7 separate regions of the Homo sapiens genome follow, and regions 2, 3, 4, 5, 6 and 7 are each linked to region 1. Evidence: promoter capture Hi-C in 16 types of primary human blood cells and fetal thymus (Javierre and others, 2016). All regions are on one chromosome and are shown on one strand. Each heading gives the region's core, a stretch centred on a gene start or on the middle of the fragment in contact. The rest is flanking DNA. Distances are from core to core; before and after follow the strand shown. Region 1 holds the start of TMEM254 (transmembrane protein 254). Region 2 overlaps ZMIZ1 (zinc finger MIZ-type containing 1). Region 3 overlaps ZMIZ1 (zinc finger MIZ-type containing 1). Region 4 has its middle 2.9 kb from the start of PPIF. Region 5 has its middle 21 kb from the start of PPIF. Region 6 overlaps ZCCHC24 (zinc finger CCHC-type containing 24). Region 7 has its middle 21 kb from the start of ZCCHC24.

Region 1 (2,815 bases), core at 160-2,659:
TCCATTGTACATATGGGGAAATCAGGACATAGGTTGTCAGATTTGACACCAACAAACAACACTGTGGACAAGACAAATCTCCAATCTCCAGGATCTATTGGTATACCCAAATAGCTTCGCCTTCCTTCAAAATTTTACCACCTTATCACTTGACGTTAGGAGTTCGAGGCCAGCCTCACCAATACCCATGTCTACTAAAAACACAAAAAAATAGCTGGGCATAGTGTAATCCCAGCTACAGGTAAAGACATGAGAATCGCTTGAACCTGGGAAGCAGAGGTTGCAGTGAGCCGAGATCGCCCCACTGCACTCCAGCCTGGGTGACAGAGCGAGACTCCGTCTCAAAAAAACACAAAACTACCACCTTAGCCCCCAACCTACTTTTCCACGCATCTTTCTCGTTATCCTTTAAACAGATTATTTCTCAGCCAAACAAACGTCGCTCTTTTTCTAGGTACAGCTTTCTTCTTGCTTCCACACCTATGTCAGAACAGTTATAGCCTCTTTATCCTCCCTTACCACTTAAATCCTACCCATCCTTTAGATTTATCCCCGTTTTCCAAACAATTCCTATTGGCTCAAACATTCTGCTTCGGAAGCCCTATTCTGACTTGGCAGGCCTATGGCAGTCTGTTAACTTGACTTTCCGCTTCGTGAGAGGCTTAGGCTCGGATAACCCGTTAGTAACCATGCAGAGGTGAGGACCCAAAGACAGGAACACTAGAAAGCAGAAACTATCCTAAGAGCCCACCGAATTTCCGCTTACATGAGTAACCGAGACAACCGTCAGATGCGCGTGCGCACAGGCCCCGTTCCCAGAGCTCCCCTCGCCCTACGAGGGCCCGGCGGGCCAAAACAGAGGCCCGCCCCGCCCCACCCCACGCCTCACCGCGAAGTAGCCCAGCCCCAGGACTGTGACCAGAGAGGGCAAGGGTCTTGCTGGACGGAAATAGGCGGTAGCCGCATTGCTGGCCTCCGACTTCACCATCCTCTTGAAAAACCCAGACACAGAGTTGGCTGGGAGCTCCCCAGCCGTCCCCGCCCCCATATAAGAAAAGCCTGGCTAGCCGGTTTCTCAGGGCCCTGGGCGCCCGCCCAAGACCCTGGCGGACCAGTATGCTTGCTCTCATTGCGGAGTCTGGTCCCCTCCCCTCCGCTCCTAGCGCGCGGGAGTCGGGATTGTGCTTGCACGACTTCCCCCGGCCCGCGGCCTGTGAGCCCAGGTCCTGGGGTGAACCGAGCGCTCGCTCGTTCGTCAGACCGTAGCGCTCCAGCGGCTGTCCTTACTGTGTAGTAGCCAAAGCTGAGGGTGATGACTGTGAACCAGAACAGACTGCCTCGCTGAAAGTAGGTCGCGCCGGCTGCCGTAGCCATGGCTGCAACACCTCCCCGGGAGCGCGCTTCAGGACACCGTCGAGCGCGAGCGCGGAGGCAGGGCCGGGGCCGGCCCGCGCTCCCTCGCCATCCCCGCAGGGAGAAGATGGTGCTGGTTGGGAAGTCCCTGAGAGCGAGTCTCCCTGTCTGGCCCCAGTACAGGGGCCTTGGAATCACACCTGGGCTCAGGTCTGGAGGGCTGGTCATCATCTTGTAGGGGAGACACTCCTGTCACTTTTCTGGGTTTAAGATAAAGATGTTCGGGCTGGCGCGGTGGCGTGTCCCTGTAATCTCAGCACGTTGGGAGGCTGAGGTAGAAAGATCCCTTGAGCCCAGGAGTTTGAGACCAGCCCGGGTAACATAGCTAGACTCTGTCTCGAATGAATGAATGAATGAATGAGGTGTTGGAATAAATTCCAGCAATTTGGGAGGCCGAGTCGGGCAGATCACTTGAGGTCAGGAGTTTGAGACCAGCGTGGTCAACATGGTGAAACCCCGTCTGTACTAAAAATACAAAAAATTTGCTGGGCGCGGTGGTGCCTGCCTGTAGTCCCAGCAACTCCAGAGGCTGAGACAAGACTCTCTTGAACCTGAGAGGTGCAGGTTGCAGTGGGCCCAGATCACGCCACTGCACTCCAGCCTGGGCAACACAGCAAGACCCTGTCTCAAAAAAAAAAAAAAAAGATGGTGTTTTACTAAGAGTCTAATTTTTGAAGTTCTCTGTGCTGTGCACCTTGAGAAATAATGCTGTCCTCATTAGTTAAGATGTTTGGAACTATACAGCACCATGGTTATGAGCAGGGACTGTGAAACAGGCTGCCTGGATTTAAGTCCTGGCTCTGTCTCGGCTATTTGTGTAAGCTTAGATTAATTACTTAGCCCGGCTGTGTCTTAGTTTCTGTATCTGTAACATGAGGATATGCCAGTTTTGGGAACCTCAGGGTTTTTAGGGTGGGTTAAATGAGTTGATATCTGTAAAGAAAGCACAGCAGTGTCTGGCCCATAGTGCTTTGTAAGTGTGGGTGATTATCAATACTGCTGAGCCTTTAGCATGTGTGCCAGGCCCTGTGCGAACTGTTGTATCATCAATGAGCTGTGGGAGGTATATGCAGCTGAAGTGTCTGATTAAACACTATTTAATCATAGAAATAGAAAATCATAGAAATAGAAAAACTATTTCACCTGGGCCTTAAAAATGGGTTACTGGCCAAGCGCAGTGGCTCAAGCCTATAATCCTGGCACTTTTGGAGGCCGAGGTGGGTGGATCGCTCAGGAGTTCGAGACCACCCTGGAGAACATGGTGAAACCCTGTCTCTACTAAAATACAAAAAATTAGCTGGGGGTGGTGGCGCGTGTCTATAGTCCCAACTACTTGGGAGGCTGAGGCACGAGAATTGCTTGAGCACCGGAGGCGGAGGTTGCAGTGAGCCGAGATCCAATC
Region 2 (2,815 bases), core at 171-2,670, 830 kb after region 1:
CCTTGTTTTTCCCTTTGCAGGCTCCCTCGTGAGGCAGCTGCTGCTCTGCCAGGCCCTGGGAGAGTTTCCTCCTGCAGCCGAGGCTTGGGGAAGGAGGGCGAGGGAGGCCCAGCAGATGCTCTGTGACACGGTGTGGCGGGGCAAGAGCAAGGGTGAGGTGCACTCTGTACCAGTCAAAGGTCCCGAAATCCTTCTCCCTGCTGGGTTCGGGCCTGTACCCCTCTCTCTGAGGTGGTGCTAAGGATCCCAGCCACAGGCCCCACTGAGGAGTTCCTTCCCCATGGAGGAGCCAGCCTCTCCCGAGGGACCCATGCCGCATCGCTCAAGGTAAACACCTCCCTTGCCCAGAGAGCCTCGCGCCCGCTCCTTCCAGCTCTGCCAGCACAGAACTCTCTGTTCCTGAGGACCCGAGGCTGAGCTGGCGCTCCCGCCCGATCAATGGATGACTTCACAGGGACTGACGCCTACTGGCACCAAGACTGTCCCTCAGGGAGGTCTGAGGCTGCTCCTGGGACCGCTGCCCACTCGTGCCCCCTGGCTGACCTCTGCTGGATGACAGAGTGCTGGCCAAGGGGTTGGAGACCTGGGACTCATGCCACCCTCTTGCTGGATGACCTTGGGCAAAAGTGAACCTCAGTTTTCTCCTGTGTTAAATGGGAATGCCTGGCTGGTCTACTCCTTCCCCGCAGCAGGCTGCCACAAAACAAATGCTAGAGAAACAGGAGGTCTCTTTATCTAACAGACTCGCCTGCACTGTTACACTTGTGGGCTCTGAGCTAGTGTCCTCACTGCACCTCTGTCTTAAGTCTATCCTCCTGGACAGCGCTGTCTGTCGTCCATGGAGCTTCCTGTTGTGGTGGACATGTTCTAGAGTCTGAGCTGCCCAACAAGGCGGCTACCAGCCTTCGGTGGCTACTGAGTGCTTGAATGTGGTTAGTGCCAAGGATAAGCTTAACTCATCCCTTTAATTAATTGAAATTCACAAACAGCCACATGTGGCCAGTGGCTACTGTACTGAATGGCGTCATCTTAGACCCAGCTCAGTCACTCCTTACTCCCTGGGGCAACATTCAGGAAGCCCCGGGCAGGACTTCCGCAGAACCTCTGTGGAAGCACCTTTCTCCCTCTAGCTGCCTGACTCCAGACTAGGGACTCATCTCAGAGTTCCCAGGGACTGCATGGACTGGGTGCTCAACCAATGCAGACTGAGATCTGGAAGTGCTCTTTCAATCCCTCTGCCCCCCGACCCCGTCCCAACTCCAATGGGGAAAACACACCCAACCAGCCTTCCACTCGTGCCATCATCATTCAGCAGCCACTGGGCACCCACCATCCGCCAGGCACCACAGTTGGCACTGGGGCATACGGTGATGAGAAACACGTGGTCCCTGCCTTCAGGGAGCCCACTGGCATCAAGGTCTTGCTCCTGTTGGAGCCAGGCCTGGCCTCCTACATCCCCAACTGGATGATCTCGGGCACATCAGTTTTCCCATCTGAAACTGGGGCTCAAAAGTCCCTGAGCGCACAGGCTGTGATGAGAATCAAGAGGCATGAGAGAGGCACAGGGGCTCTGAGCCAGGGGAGGGCTGTGCAGGGCAGTGGAGGCAGCCTTATGTAGCGAGGTGTAAACTCTGTGCAGGCTGCGCTTCCGGTAAAGACCTAGATTCTCACCAAAGCATCGCCGTTTGGTGGTTTCTCACTAAGGAAGTTCAGGATAAAAATAGCTCAGAAGGGGACTTGAATCCAGCTAGTTGGAGGGTAGTCACTGCCTGGCTTATACACAAAAAAAGGGGAAAGGCTTGTTAGGAGCCACGTGGACTCCAAGAGTCACCCTTCCACGCAACCCCTGGGACAGGGCCTTTCCTCCATAGCAGATGGGAGATAAGCTTCAGGCCCAGAGCCCCATAACTGGGGGAGCCGGAGCCCCCACGTAACATCTGGGGTCACCCTGACTTCAGGATGGCACGGCCTTTTCACCCCAACTCACTCCTCAGCCAGATTTCTGACTCTCAGCCTGATTTCTCTCCTCAGCCCAATTTCTGTGGCCACTCTCAAAGATGGGCCAATGAGAAGCACACTGGCACCAACTCCATGCCACCTGCCACACAAAGCCTTCCTGCTGGAAGAGCCATCAGCCCTGCTCAACACTCATCTGGCAGTCTCGCCTGATGGTCAAGGGCGAAGGGACTGGGTCCCCACTGCAGGAATGACAGTCTCCTGAAACCCGTCTAAAGAAGTGCCAGCTGACCTCTCCTAGTTTCCCCCCAGAGGGCTTCTCGACCCAGGAACTGGTACCTATCTGGTGCCCACCGCACCATGGCTTGGCTTCGAAGACACCAATACCAAAACCACATGCTCAGGACCCCAGGCAGCCTCCTCTTAGTCCCTATCAAGGGGCTCTTTCTCCAAGGTCTTGTACAAGGTCCTCACAACCAGGCATCTCCTGAAAGGCTGCTTCCTGCCCTCTGGTGCAAATCCACCTCTCTCCTCTAGCCAGCTTGCCAGCAAACACTTGTCAGAAGTCTATTCGGCACCCACCACCTTTGCGAAGGGCACCCTGCCGCAATGGTGGCATCACCAGTGCCCGTGGGGTCTCTACGCGCTGGAGGCATCAGGGCTGCATTCTGACAAAGGAGCAGCTTGAAGTCGAGGACCCTCAGGCGCTGCCTCCGAAGGCATCCTGGCCGATTCTTATTTTTGCAGCGTGAGCCGACTGAGCACAGAGCCTCGTAAAATGTCTGCTGGAGAGCCAACACTTCACCTTCAGGGACCTGGGTGGGGGCGCACTCTGCCCCGTGGCCCCAAAGAGAAATGA
Region 3 (2,815 bases), core at 133-2,632, 760 kb after region 1:
CACACACACACACACACACACACACACACACGTTTCTTGATAGAATGCTACCCTTTACTTTGTAGGGCACACTCCTGATATTTTCTACTGTATTCTCATTTGTTTTATTAAAGTGCTGGTCCAGCCCCACCACACTGCTCTAAGGCACAGGGAGGGGGGCATGTCTCCTACGGGAAGTTCTCCCTCAAGCTAACTAATCACCCTCCTCTCGGAGGGGTGTCTGTTCAGAGAGAGTCAGCCTGTCCTGGTGATGCTGGCAGAAGGCAGTGCCTGCAGCTGAGCAGTGGCCGGTGGGTGTTCCATTATTTAAGGTAAATCTTTTCTCCTCCTCACCTTCCACCTCCCTCCAAAAGGAGAAACTCCAGCCACCTCGGAGAGGCCCCAGGAGCAGGGGGCTTCTAGGCACCCAGCCCCCTACAGGCAGCACCCTGCAGCCTCCCCCACACCGCCGGCTCCTGCACACACATGCCCCTCACTCTCCTGACACCCGGATACATCTGAGTGGAGATCTCTGGGGTGCCGGCCCGGCCCTTCTTCCCTCTGTGGACAGTCCCTGTGGAGGAAAGGCCATGACAGCCACATTTGCTTTCCCCCTAAGGTGAGGCTGCGTGGAGGGAGGGCAGGGACTGGCTGCGGGGCTGTGTCAGATGCATGTTCCTAAAACTTCAATCGGAGACACATCAAGTGTTGTCAGTTTGTGTTGGTGCCGAGGCTGGAAGGATGGTTAGAACCATGGCCTGGGCAGGGGCTATCGTGAGACAGTACCCCATGTAAAGCATGCTCACGGAGGAGGGAAAACCCAAGCTTCCCTAGGAGGGGAGGGGCAGGTGTACCGAGAGGTGGAGGCCAGGGATGCTGAGATGCCAGCAGGGAGCCATGGGTGCAGTGAATGCTCACTCTCCATTGAAGCCACACTCCTGTGTGCTCTGAACAGCACCCTCTGTGGCTTAATATGAATAGCTTCCTGCTACTTAAACCCAGCATAATCCACAAGGGACCATCAAAGATGGGACACTGTTGCACACTCTGAGTCACATGCCACAGGGGCCCCTAGCACCCTGCAGCCACCTGGCCCTATTCAGCCACCCCAACTCCCCCAACCATCCGGCCACACACTGCACTTGCCCCACCAGGGACTGGTTCCAGGGACCCCCATGGACAGGGGTTCTTCCAATTCAACACCCAAACCACCTGCCTTTCTTTTTTGTGTGTGCAGAGGGTAACAGGGCGGGGGGTGTGGTTTAAAACAAAAGCAAAAACACCCAAACCACTCCTTAACATCCACAAAATAGCTAATTCGCCAAACCTTTGTTTTTGTCAATTTATTTAGAAAAAAATTAACATGGGCAAATGAGATACCTCAGTGTTACAACAGAGTATAGAAATGTCTAGCAATAGTCAAATAATTTGATCTTTAAATACAAAATAACCACATGAACACCTAATATACAGGTTTCATCTGAATACATATTTATTAGATAAATATTAGAGGTTGTCACATCATCTAACTACATACAGCTTTGCAAGACTAGAAATCACAATTAGTTTTTTGACCAGTTTAAAGTATGAAATGATTGCATTGTACATACGATGTACAAAGACGATGATGGTTTCTGTGGGAGTTACTTCAGGCTGCACTGGTGGGTGTGTTTATGTGTGTACGTGTGAATCACCTGTGATCATGATATCAAAAATTATACAAAGTATGAATTTGGTTACAATTTTCTTCTGAAATCCCCGTTTCTTTTCATTATTTCCATAGCACCCTAAAAATACACAGGTGGCAGGACTAGTACACTGAAGCTAAATAGTACATGTAGGTAAAATAAAAACAGAACAAAAACCCCTTTCCACTCAGGGTCAGAGTATATTACATGAGCGAGAGAGACAGACGTGGAGAACTCACAAATGCTATAACCAACAGGATCTAGTTTTTCCACGTGATGGAGTTCCAAGCTTTTTTTTTTGTTTTGTTTTGTTTCGCAAAATAAAAACAATACACATTCCAAGAGAAATGAATGCATCTGTTGACACGTCTCTATTTCTCATTTACATATGTACACACGTCCCTTGAGTCGCTGCTGTTGACACGGCCCTGTGTGGACGGGTCAGGCCCGAGGCCCGTCGGGAGCAGACCTGTAGCTCTCTGGGGGATCAGGGCTTCCATTAGGGAGAAAGTATTAGCAGTTTCTTAAAAAATAAAATGGCTACACGGAACATGATACATGGATAAAGCTTCAAACCAAGAAGATGGGGGTGATTGCCTGTACTTGGCCCTTCCCGCCTGCCTGCTGGCTCCCTGTCCATCTTGCGGAGTGGCGGCAGAAACATGCCTGTGGGCCGGGTGGATGCTTGGCATGGAAAAGTGGCTTGCAGAGGCCTCGTTTTTGCTGAGGTTACTTATGGCTCCAAGTAGTCGTCCGAAAGGATCAGGGAAGGATCTCTCCAGAGTTCAGGACCATCTCTGTTTATGGGCGTTGTCTACCTGCACCTGTCACAACCTGGGGCTTGCTCCCGCCCCGGATGCCTCTGCACCTCCCTCACACCCTGGCCTGGCTCCCAGAGCACTCCGGAAGAGCTTGTCTCCAGACTGCAGGCTGTAGGCACCACGCACGGTTCAGAGCCAGCCGGAAGGGAAGCTCTGGGCCGAGCTTGCTGGTGGAGGCTTGCTGGAGAGGGGACCCAGGAAACCCGCCTCAGGTGCTGAGCCCAGAGATGGTTGCAGGAGGTGCCCGGGGCCTGGGCTGCAGGGAGCATCTCGACTCTCCGCACTGGAAAGCCGTGGATCCACCTGTGAGCAGAGTGTGGACACACC
Region 4 (2,815 bases), core at 220-2,719, 730 kb after region 1:
GGGGAGCAGCCCCTCCTTTCTTATGATTGTGCCCTGAGGTGAGCAGGCCTGAGTGGGGAGCCCACTTGAGCCCTCAGCACATGTCCCAGACCTTCCTCTACCAGTGCATCCTGTGGATTTGAGAGTGGAGGAATCACGCCATGTGCCTTGTCATGAAGCTTCCTTAAGGCCCCAGGCTTCCCTGCGGCCAGTTCCAGGCCCTGAGCTCACAGGACCTTCAGCCACAGCAGGTAGCTCAGCGTACCCTGTTGTTTCTCAAGCCTGCTCCTGGGGGGACTCAGTTTATGCCCCATCCTGATGAAGCATGAGCATCCCCACCCCAGGGGAGTGCTGCCTTCATTCACTTGACCACTTCAGTTCTCAGAACCCTTTCCCAGCTGTGAACTCTGCCTGAGAGACAGCTCTGTTTTGCAGATGGGGAAGCCAGGCCCCAGGGGCTGGGGAGTGAATTGCCCAAGGGCAGGCTGTTGGAACTGGGACCAGTCTGTCTGACTTCACAATCAGGGTTATTGCATGTCAAACCCTTCTCACTCTCACCACGAAGCTGGTCCTTGGGACAGGGTGGGGAGGCAAGAGAGATAAGCCTGGGCAGACAACACAGTAAGATAGAAACGGTGGAGTTGGCCAGGGGGCTATGGAGCTCAGGGACTAGGGAGATGGTTTTAATAGTGAGCATGAGCTGAAAGGCCTGTGGGGACCCAATCACAGAGGGCTCTGAAGGCCTGGCTGAGGTCTGACATTGTTGGATAGCACTGGGGAGCCATGAATAGTGCAAAGACTCCATGCTGAGGACTCTGGACTGGGAACCAGCTTCTTTCATTCATGTTACTCCTTCCACTCTCTTTGGAAAATCAAACGTCATCACTACCTCCTAAGCCAGAGAAAAGCCTACCTTCCCCAAAGGCTTAGCTATGATGTCATCCCTTCCTGTTCTGTTCTCAGTGGTATCAGGAAGAAGGATAGTCTATAGGCTAAGCCATGAGCTGAACACATGCCCAGCCCTTGAGGGCTCCGGGCCCAGGTGACATCAGGCAGGTGTTAGCACTCACCTGGCTCTGAGGCTATTTATAGACTGTGTTATCCTCAGAAACAGCAGTGTTTCTCTCCACTCAGCTCACATGGTTTTTTATCCAGGGTGCTGATGGGTTTTGTCACCTAGGGATCCTGTAACACCACCTCTAGGCCTCACAAAGCCAAAGAACAATCAGTTTGTGCTAAGCTCAGAATCTCATTCAGGGGTTGCAAACTCAGATGCCTGCGGGGGCCAGGCAGGTGATACACATGAGTGGTGCAAGCTGGTAAGTATGTAGGGAGTGAGGGGAGGTGGCACTGTATCCAGATAGCTAATGGATGTCCCAGGTAAAGAGGTAGCTGCTGCCCAGGCCAGCCAATTATTGTATATGGGACTATGGGTCCACACAGGCCACCCAGGTTTTCTCATCTTTCAATAAAAGCTGAAGACTTTAAGTTTTATAGAAATCTAGTTTTCAAATTTTTGAAATGAATTTCAAAATAAAATTAAACACCGAATGAACTGTAAACACCGTATCCAAACTAGATGAGGACTCTGGGCTGATAGTTTGTAAGCTCTGATTTCCACTGTACAGGTGAGAGGACTGAAGCTCAGAGAAGGATGGGGAGTGGCCCGAGGCCATACAGCTGGGCAGTACCAGGACTGTGGTCAGACCCTCTCTTCACTCTCCCCAGGGCCCTTTCTGCAAAGTTCACTCAGCAGACATGTTTTCAGAGCACCTACTGTGTTCTGAGCCCTGAGCTTCACCCTGGGGATTCAGAAGGACAAAGACAGGGACAGGAGGTTATGGTGTCCTGAGATGCTGGAACTGCTGAACAAACCTCTCCCAGGTAGCCCTGTGTGTGGCAGGAGTGAACGCTGTGGTTGTCGTGGGGTACAAAGTTACAGTTGTTCTGGAGAGACCCTCCAGGAGGGGCTGGGGGTGAAGGTAGCCCCGGTGTGGGCATGAGGTGGGGTTTCTATAATATTAAATATCATGAAGGCTGAGATCATTACCAGTGCCAGTCACTGGGTCATACAACCTGTGCTGCCAGCCTAGACAATGGTCCTTAGGTAGGATGAGGCCATGGACTTCATCTGTCTGGTTATGCTTGAGGGGTTTGGGGTCCAGGATAGCATCTGTCATGGGAAGGGAAACTGAGAGAGAGGTTCCCCGCGACTCAGAAAGCCACCAGACCCTTCTACTGGGTTGCTGTGGGACTCTCTGGGGATGGAGTGTCCCCCGTGGCCTTTGCAAAGTCAGTACATTCATCATCCTCTCTCTGCTGGCTTCTAAGAACCAGACCATGATGGGGAGGCAGAGGCAGAGAAGGGAGGTTCCACTAAGGCCCAGGGAGGTGGTGGGCACAGTGATCAGAGAGAGACCCACAAGGGGAAGATGGGGCGAAGCTCTCCTCTGGAGTCCAGCTGGTCTTTTACTCGTGTGATCTGGATCACTGCGGGCCACTGAGAGCGGAGCCAGTGTGGTAGGGTGGAGCTCAGTAGGGTGTGGCTCACCCTCAGCTGCTGGGCTCTCACACAACCTGCCTGGCCACAGCCCCCTGCAACTCACAACTCAGCAGAGCTTGCCTTCTGGGAGTATCTGCAAGATAATCCATGTTTGTTGTTTGAAGCCACTAAGTGTTGGGTCATTTGCCATGTGCAGTGGATAACTCATACCCATAGTACCCCACCCCAGCCAGGACTCCTGGAAGATCCCATTGCTCCATGCACAGCCAGTCCTGGATCTGCTGTCTCAGCAAGCTTGGTCACCAGCTCTTGGCAAGGACCTCACGGGCATGG
Region 5 (2,815 bases), core at 237-2,736, 710 kb after region 1:
ATAAATACAAAATTAGCCAGGCATGCTGATGTGTGCCTGTAATCCCAGCTACTCAGGAGGCTGAGGCAGGAGAATTACTTGAGCCTGGGAGGCAGAGGTTGTTGCAGTGAGCTGAGATCATACCATTGCACTCCAGTCTGAGCAAAAAGAGTGAAACTCCATCTGAAAAAATGAACAAACAAACAAACAAACAGAAAATACAAAAAGAATGAGATCCCAGCCTGGACAACATAGTGAGACCTCTTCCCTACTAAACAAAAATAAAATAAAATAAAATATAAAATAAAATTTATTTAGCCAGGCATGGTGGTGCATAACTGTAGTCCCAGGTACTCGAGAGGCTGAGGCAGGAGGATCACTTGAGCCCAGGAAGTCAAGGTTGCAGTGACTTGACTTGATTATGCCACCACCCTCCAGCCTGAGCAAGAGAGTGAGACTTTGTCTCAAATGAGATCCTGAAATTTGGAATGGAGTCGCCTGATTGGATCAAAATGAAACCAACAACTTGAACCCTCAAGCTACTCTGTTTCTTCCTTACCAATGGAATTAGCTTGCTCTCCTGTGTCTGAGGAAAAGACACTTCTTTGCTTAAAAGCACTGTGATAACCTCATAAGGTTTGAAAGGGGATGCTCAAGGCCTGCTACAATCACTCCCCAGACCCATAATAGGTGTCGAATCTCAGCATTTTCCAGAGGAACAGCAGGATTCCAGAGGAAACAGCTTACACACCCAAAGAATTGTGAGACTTTGCTAATATAGATGCTCCTCAACTTGTGATGGGGTTACATCCTGATAAGCCCAATGTAAATTGAAAATGTCATAAGTTGAGAATGCATTTAATACCCCTAACCTACCAAACATCAGAGTTTAGCCTGGCCTACCTTAAATGTGCTCAGAACATTTACATTAGCCCACAGTTGGGCAAAATCATCTAACACAAATCCTTTCTTATAAGAAAGTGCTGAATATTTCATGTGATTTATGGAATACTGTACCAAAAGTAAAAACAGAATAGTCCTATGGGTACTCAAAGTACAGTTTCTACTGAATGCATATTGTAAAGCTGAAAAAACTGTAAGTTGAACCATCATAAGTCAGGGACTGTCTATACATATTTTTAAACAGATTTACTGAGATATAGTTCACACACTATACAATTTACCCATGAAAATGTTGATAGTATATTCACAGATATATGCAACAATCACAAAAGTCAATTTTAGAACATTTTTATCATCCCATAAAGAACCCTTGTAACTTCAGCCAACATGCATTGATACCCTGCCCCATCTACTCTCTTCAACCCTAAACAACCACTAATCTATTTTCCATCTCTATGGATTTATCTATTCTGGGCACGTCATATGGAATCATATACTATGTTGTCTTTTGTGACTGACTTCTTTCACATAGTATAATGTTTTCAAGATTCATCCAGGTTGTAGCAGGTATCAGTACTTCATTTCTTTTTATAACCAAATACTATTTCATTGTATGGCTATGCCACATTTTCTTTATCCATTTGCCCATGGATGGACATTTGGGTTGTTTCTACCTTTTGACCGTTATGAATAACGCTGCTATAAAAGTTTGTGTACAGGTTTTTCTATGGATGCGTTTTCATTTCTCTTGGGTGCATACCTAGGAATGGTATTGCTGGGTCATAGGATAACTCTATCTTTAATCATCTCAGAAACTGCCAGGCAGTTTTCCAAAGCAGTTGGACCATTTTGTATCCCACAGCAATGCTCGAGAGTTTCAAATTCTCCACATCTTTGCAAACATTTACTATTATCTGACTTTTTAATCTAACCACCCTAGCGGGTATAAAGCGGTATCTCATTGTGGGTTTGATTTGTGTTTCCCTGGTGACTAATGAGGTTGAGCATCTTCTCATGTGCTTATTGGCCAATCGTACATCTTCTTTGGAGAAATGTCTGTTCAAATCTTTTGCATGTTTTAAAATTGGGATATTTGTCTTTTTATCATGGAGTTGTCAGAGCTCTTCATATATTCTAAAAACAAGTCCCTTATCTGATATATGATTTGCAAATATTTTCTTCCATTGTGTGGGAGAACCACAAAAGTTTTAAATTTTGATGAAGTCTTAATCTATCTTTTTCTATTTTTGTTCCCTTCTGTTGCTCATGCTTTGTTTTCATATCTATGAATCATTTGGCAAATCTGAAAGACTGGATGCTTTCCTCTTAAGATCAGGAATAAGACACGATGTTTGCACATGTCACAAAAATTTATCCCTATATTTTCTTTAAAAAGTTATCTAGTTATGCCCTTATGTTTAGGTCTTTCATCCATTTTTGTTGTTGTTGTTTTTGTTATTTTAGAGAGGGTCTCACTCTGTGGCCCAAGCTGAGGTGCAGTGGTGCCATCATGGCTCAGTACAGCCTCAAAATGCTGGGCTCAAGTGATCCTCCCGCCTCAGTCTCCTGAGTAGCTGGTACTATAGGTGTGCCACTACAACTGGCTACGTTTTAATTTGTTTGTAGAGATGGGGGTCTTGCTTTATTTGGGGGGTTTAGGCTTCTTTGATCATTTTGAGTTAATTTTTGTTTATGATGTGAGGTAAGGGTTGAGATTTATACTTTTCTATGTGATTATCCAGTTGTCCCAGCACCACTTGTTAAGATTATTCTTTTCCCACTGAATGCTCTTGGCATCTTTGTTGAAAATCAGTTGACCATAGATGTATGAGTTTATTTCTGTAATCTCAATTCTACTCATATCTATCCTTCTGCCAATACCACACTGTCTTTATTATCATTGCTTTCATAAGTTTTGAAATCAGGAAGTGTG
Region 6 (2,815 bases), core at 138-2,637, 670 kb after region 1:
CAGAATGGGCCTCCTGACAGCTCCAGCTCAGAGGGAGAGTTGGCTGGGAGGGGAGGGGCGGAGGCACAGGGTTGAACGCATCCCCTGCCTTGCTCTCCCTTCTCCCGCCTCCTCCCCCAGCTGGGCAGCTCTTCTCTGGGGGACACAGATGGGTGCTTGTCTTGAGAGCCCCCGTCCTCCCCCTGCTCCTCCAAACACTCGCAGTGGGGACAGGAAGTGTCGGCCCTCGCCTTCCAGCTGCCCGGGTGGGACACCACTGAGCTGGGCTGGCCTGCTCAGGGAGGGACAGAGGCCCTATTGAGCCCGTTCCCTGGACCATCAGGGACAATAGCCACACTGAGGACCAGGAACAGCGACCAGCATGCTTGCCCAGGAAGTTGCCAGGCCGCTGCCTGCCCCATCCCCACACCTCCCCTACCCCTCTGGCTTTCTCTTCCAGATACTTCTCTCAGGCTGATAGTCATGTCCAAATGGTCACTTGCCCTTCACCTGCTCCCCAGAGCCCCCTGTCCTGTGCCAGACCCACGCTGGGCCCAGGGAATCAGAGGGGACCCCTACAGGGTCTCTGTCCCTGAGGAGAGGGCAGGGAAGGAGGTGACAGACACATGAGCTGAGAGGGGTGTATCCTAAGTGCTTCCTACAGAGATCCACAAGGTACAGGGGGTCCCTGGAGGGCAGGGGAGATGTCTGCTAGAAGTGCTGGTAGGAAAGGCTCCCTGGAGGAAGAGTCACAGTTCTAAAGAGCTTCCGCAGCCAGGGTTGTGCTTTGAAAGCCCAGCACCCAAGTGGCCCAAGCCTGGCAAAAACTAGCCTCTGTTACATGCCCAGAGGTGTGCAGAAGCAGTGGCCAGGACTTGGACTCTGTCCACTTCTCAAGCCTGTGTGCTGTCTACTCATGGAACTATTTGCATTGGAAGGATCTTTAGGGATCATCTAGGTCAGGAATGCCAACTCAAGTCATGTGTGCCTGCTGCCCCCGGCCATGGCAGGGCAGGCACCACGAAAATCACACCATTCTTGCCTGTCGAGCTTGGATATAGCTGCAGAATCCTTCACACCACAGTAGTTTTGTGGCAAGTTACGAGTGGACACACAGGGAGAAGTATTTGCCTTTCCTGATTTTACTTTATCCCCCCATCATGGACAGATGGGGAAACTGAGACCCAGGCAGGGAAGGGGCTTATCCCAGGTCACAGAGCTTGCTGGTGGCAGTGTGTAGGGACTGGGTCAGGGACAGGAAGGAGGTCAGAAACACCCACCTTTTGCAGTTTAGGCTGTGAACCGTCAGAGACTGGGAATGGGAATGGTTGACTGCCCTGAACAGACCTTCTGTATGGCTTCTCACTGTGAAGAGGGGATCCCCATTCTCCTCTGCCACGACACCCCATTCCTTCATATCTCTCATCACAGCTTTAATGATCTGAATGGGATACTTACTTTTCTTCCGCGCCTGGCTGTAAGTTCATGGGGGCCGGGGTTGCATCTGTCTTGTTAACCACCCTCCTCCAGTGCCTTGTGGGTGCCTAATTCATAGTTGTCGAGGGCACATGTGGAAAGGAAGTAAATGCACGTGGTGATTGGTGCTCCAAAGCCTTCCCTGCTCCCTGGCTGGTTGTTTGGCCTGCAGACAACAAGCGGGATCCCTGGGGGCACCTGGGATCCAGGCATCAAGCTGGTCAGATACATGCCAGTATATAGTAAGCAGCTGGCCTAACCTGGGTAGTCCCTGAGCTCCCTGCAGGGAAACTGAGGCCCAGAGTGCTATAATCATAAGCCAGGAGTCGTGCAGGCAGAGCAGGGAGCTAAGCTGGGGTCAACTGGCTTCCGTCCAGGCTTCTGGGCACCCAATCTTGCCACCAGCCTCCACATCTGTAGCTCAGGGGCTGACTTTTCCCAACAGCTGGGCCCACTGGGAGCTGTGTGTGTTGGTGCCAAGGCAAACATCGGTGGTGGAGGTGGGGGCAGGAGGTGCCTGCAGGCTCTGTGTTCCTTTGCCTTCCTGAACAGACAGGGCTGGAGCCCCTGAGCAGCCCGGCCTCCTGCTCCATGATCATTGTTCCCGGTGATGGTTTCCAGATGCTGAGGAGTCACAGGTTTGGGGCTGGGCCAGGAGAGCCAGGCCAGCCCTCCCCAGTACCCCGCCGCCACTGACACCACCGCCGGTCTTGCTTTTAAAGAGATGGGCCTTTCTCCCCCAATCCAGGCTTTCCCCTCTCAAGCCCAGCAGCCTCACTGTCCTGCAACCAGCCCAGCTCCTGGGGTGAGGAGCCCTGCGCTCCACTCCCAGCTCTGACCCTAACTTCCTGTATGGCTTGAGCAAGTCACTTGCCTTCTCTGTGCCTCAGTTTCCTGGGCTGTAGAATGGGCAGATGGGGACAGCATGGAGGTGACAGTATCTGACTGGACTTTAACAGACTGTGACCAGGATCACTGGGGCGGTGGCTCCCTAGGTGGGTCCCCAGACCAGCAGCAGCTGCACCGCCCAGGCATTTGAGACTCTGGTTCTCAGGCCCTCCCCAGACCTATTGATTCTGAGACTCTGGGGCCAGGGCAGCAGCGTGCAGTGTACCAATGCCCCGATGGTCCTGTGCGTGCTCTCGTGAGCGAAGAAGAGCGTGTGCTCTAGAAGCAGGGGCTCAGGAATCTGGAATCAGAAAGACGAGCACAGCCGTATGGCTTCAGAATGAGCCTTCACTTCCTGCTGGGGAATGTGGACTGGCGCTCCCAGCCCTGTGTGTGGCATGGTTACTGTGCAACAGTCAGCCTGGCTCCCACACCACCGAGTGCTCCTCTGGGACAGGCGCTCCCTGGGGGC
Region 7 (2,815 bases), core at 100-2,599, 610 kb after region 1:
TCCTCCAAGAAGGCCTCACATGTTGATCAGACAGGCTGGTGGTCCTATGCTCTCCTCAACCCCTCTCCCCAGCTTTTATAGATCTTGTAGTAGATGACTGTAGTTGTGCCTTCCCCTCCCCTTCTTGGGAACTGTTCCACCCCATGCACACGCCTATAGAGGGGGCCCTAGCAGTATTATCACCCTTCCTCTGGGGCTTCTTTGACCTCAGGACAAGCTGGATTAGGCAGAGTTCTTCCCTCAGATTCACTGGGTTGGAAGTGGAAGAATCCCAATCCTTCCTTCTCCAGGGTGTGCAGGTCTGGAGCTGCTGCCAGTGTGCAGTGCAGGGAGAGAGCTGAGAGGGAGGGAAACAGAGAGAAGAGACACAGCATATTTGAGTTCCTGGTTTCTGTGTTCTTCAGCCCTGTCTGTCTCCTGCTTAGTGACACAAACCATCCTTAGGATCCAAGAGGAGCAGCCCATTTCCAGCCTCTTCTGAGGTCCAGCTGATCGGACTTTGAGTGGACGTTTGACCACGGAGAATTAATCCAGAAGCCAGGCAGGTCCACTATCTCCTAGAGCTGGAACATAGAGTGCCAGGGTCGGGTGTTTCCAGGGCTCCACTGGTGAGCCACCGATAAGCAGACAGAACCTTCAGACTGGTCATGAGGATTCTTACATAACAGAGAAAAACAGAAGTCCCTGGAGCCTGAGGAGGTTGGGGCAGAGAAAGGAAGGAGGCTGGGAGAGGGGCTGCCTGGGCTCCGGCCAGCTTCCCCCTTTGTGTCTTCACTGCCTTGAAAGTCCTGCCCTGGCTGCCCTCAGGTACCATCAGATATTTCTGCATCTATCTGGCAAATCTTCCCTTTTGCTCAAGCTACTTTGCCAGGGCTCTTGTTCCAGGTCCCTGGCTATCCTGTCCTTCAACATGGAGGCAACAGAGTCTGTGATCCCCCATAGGGGGCGCTGGAGAACAAGTTCTCACAATTGACCAAGGAGTTTACAGCCTTTTTTTTTTTTTTTTTTTGAAACAGAGTCTTGCTCTGTCGACTGGACTGGAGTGCAGTGGCTGCAACCTCCGCCTCCCGGTTCAAGCGATTCTCCTGCCTCAGCCTCCTGAGTACCTGGGATTACAGGTACACACTACCACTCCAGGCTAATTTTTGTACTTTTTAGTAGAGACGGGGTTTCACCATGTTAGCCAGACTGGTCTTGAACTCCTGACCTCAGGTGATCCGCCTGCCTCGGCCTCCCAAAGTGCTGGGATTACAGGCGTGAGCCACCATGCCCAGCCTACAGCCTTCTTTTGTTCAATTGAGATATGATTCACATAACATATCACTCACCTTTTTAAAATACAACATTTAGTGTTTTCTAGTGTATTCACAGAGTTGTGCAACCGTTACCACTATCTAATTCCAGGACATTTTCATCACCCCGAAATGAAACCCCATACTCTCTAGTGGTCACTTGCCATTATCCCTCCACCCTCCCCAGCCCCTGGCATCCAACAAGCTGCTTTCTGTGTCTACAGATTTGCCTATTCTGGACATTCATATAAATAGAATCATACAAAATTTGACCTTTTAAGTATGGCCGTTTTCACTTACCATAACGTTTTCAAAGTTTATTTATGTTGTAGCATGCATCAGCACTTTACTTTTTGTAATGGCTGAATAATGTTCACATTTTTTTGTACCCATTCATCCATTGATGGATATCTGGGTGATTTCCACTTTTTGTCTATTGCGAGTAGTGCTTCTATGAGCATTTGTGTACAACTATTTAAGTACCTGTTTGTTTTCAATCCTTTTGGGTATAGACTTAGAAGTGGGATTGCTGAGTCATGTGGCAATTCTCTGTTTAACTCGTTGAGGAGCCACCAAACTGTGTTCTTTTTTAAAATTTTTTTTAATTTTTTTTTTTTTTTTGAGACAAGACTCTCCCTATGTCACCCAGGGTGAAGTGCAGTGGCACAATCTCGGCTCACTGTAGTTTCCGCCTCCAGGGTTCAAGTGTTTCTCTTGCCTCAGCCTCCTGAGTAGCTGGGATTACAGGCGCTTGTCACCACGTCTGGCTATTTTTTGTATCTTTTAGTGGAAATGGGGTCTCACCATGTTGGCCAGGCTGGTCTCGAATTCCTGACCTCAAGCGATCTGCCTTCCTTGGCCTGCCAAGGTGCTGGGATTACAGGCGTGAGCCACTGCTCCCAGCCCCAAACTGTTTTCTATAGTGGCTGCACCATTTTACATTTCTACCATCAATGTTTGAGGGTTCCAATTTCTCCACATCTTTGCCTATCCCAGTGGGTACGAAGTGGTATCTCACAGAGGTTTTGATTTGCATTTCCCAAATGACTAATGATATTGAGCATTTTCTCATGCACCTATTGGCCATTTGTATGTCTTCTTTAAAGAAATATTTGTTTTCCCATTTTAAAAATTGGGTTATTTGATTTGTTTTCATTTGTTTTAATTTTTTAATTTAATTTTTTTTTTTTTTTTTTTTTTTTTTTTTTTTTTTTTGAGACGGAGTTTTGCTCTGTCGCCCAGGCTGGAGTGCAGTGGCGCGATCTCGACTCACTGCAAGCTCCGCCTCCCGGGTTCACGCCATTCTCCTGCCTCAGCCTCCCGTGTAGCTGGGACTACAGGCGCGCGCCACCATGCCCGGCTAATTTTTGTATTTTTAGTAGAGACGGGGTTTCACCATGTTAGCCAGGATGGTCTCGATCTCCTGACCTCGTGATCCGCCCGTCTCAGCCTCCCAAAGTGCTGGGATTACAGGCGTGAGCCACCACGCCCGGCCTTAATTTAATTTTTATTTATTTATTTAT

What was found. Contacts are between HindIII fragments. The CHiCAGO score rates a contact against its expected background, and 5 or more counts as called.
Region 2: a contact is called between a fragment that was not itself captured here and the fragment with the promoter of TMEM254 in region 1, in 2 of 17 cell types (total B cells and activated CD4 T cells). The highest score is 8.0, in total B cells.
Region 3: a contact is called between a fragment that was not itself captured here and the fragment with the promoter of TMEM254 in region 1, in 1 of 17 cell types (naive CD8 T cells). The highest score is 5.5, in naive CD8 T cells.
Region 4: a fragment that was not itself captured here is called in contact with the fragment with the promoter of TMEM254 in region 1 in 1 of 17 cell types (naive CD8 T cells); the score reaches 6.3 in naive CD8 T cells.
Region 5: a fragment that was not itself captured here is called in contact with the fragment with the promoter of TMEM254 in region 1 in 1 of 17 cell types (M0 macrophages); the score reaches 5.4 in M0 macrophages.
Region 6: a contact is called between a fragment that was not itself captured here and the fragment with the promoter of TMEM254 in region 1, in 1 of 17 cell types (M0 macrophages). The highest score is 5.7, in M0 macrophages.
Region 7: a contact is called between a fragment that was not itself captured here and the fragment with the promoter of TMEM254 in region 1, in 1 of 17 cell types (M2 macrophages). The highest score is 5.5, in M2 macrophages.

Annotation. Positions count from the first base shown.
Region 1 is chr10:80,077,259-80,080,073 of GRCh38, reverse strand. TMEM254 (transmembrane protein 254) reads right to left here and starts at 1,409. Exons shown (of 4, transcript NM_025125.4): 1 at 1,288-1,409. The coding sequence starts at 1,374. TMEM254-AS1 (TMEM254 antisense RNA 1) reads left to right here and starts at 881. Exons shown (of 4, transcript NR_027432.1): 1 at 881-1,347. The HindIII fragment of the contact is 2,319 bases long and covers 1-2,237 here.
Region 2 is chr10:79,243,957-79,246,771 of GRCh38, reverse strand. The region is part of intron 7 of ZMIZ1 (zinc finger MIZ-type containing 1); the gene reads right to left. Among named protein-coding and RNA genes, the nearest start is that of PPIF, 100 kb to the left of the region's middle. RefSeq lists enhancers at 216-295, 326-375, 386-555, 776-855, 1,386-1,515 and 1 more and cis regulatory regions at 1,542-2,042, 1,416-2,248, 2,640-2,815, 2,644-2,815. The HindIII fragment of the contact is 936 bases long and covers 953-1,888 here.
Region 3 is chr10:79,315,012-79,317,826 of GRCh38, reverse strand. ZMIZ1 (zinc finger MIZ-type containing 1) reads right to left here. Exons shown (of 25, transcript NM_020338.4): 25 at 1,308-2,815. Among named protein-coding and RNA genes, the nearest start is that of PPIF, 31 kb to the left of the region's middle. RefSeq lists cis regulatory regions at 1-134, 1-152, 1-211, 1-224, 1-400 and 5 more and an enhancer at 84-143. The HindIII fragment of the contact is 1,152 bases long and covers 807-1,958 here.
Region 4 is chr10:79,343,142-79,345,956 of GRCh38, reverse strand. No RefSeq gene overlaps it. Among named protein-coding and RNA genes, the nearest start is that of PPIF, 2.9 kb to the left of the region's middle. The HindIII fragment of the contact is 2,618 bases long and covers 161-2,778 here.
Region 5 is chr10:79,366,982-79,369,796 of GRCh38, reverse strand. No RefSeq gene overlaps it. Among named protein-coding and RNA genes, the nearest start is that of PPIF, 21 kb to the right of the region's middle. The HindIII fragment of the contact is 3,581 bases long and covers 1-2,815 here.
Region 6 is chr10:79,407,229-79,410,043 of GRCh38, reverse strand. All of the region lies in intron 2 of ZCCHC24 (zinc finger CCHC-type containing 24), which reads left to right. Among named protein-coding and RNA genes, the nearest start is that of ZCCHC24, 37 kb to the left of the region's middle. The HindIII fragment of the contact is 8,416 bases long and covers 1-2,815 here.
Region 7 is chr10:79,465,713-79,468,527 of GRCh38, reverse strand. No RefSeq gene overlaps it. Among named protein-coding and RNA genes, the nearest start is that of ZCCHC24, 21 kb to the right of the region's middle. The HindIII fragment of the contact is 5,662 bases long and covers 1-2,815 here.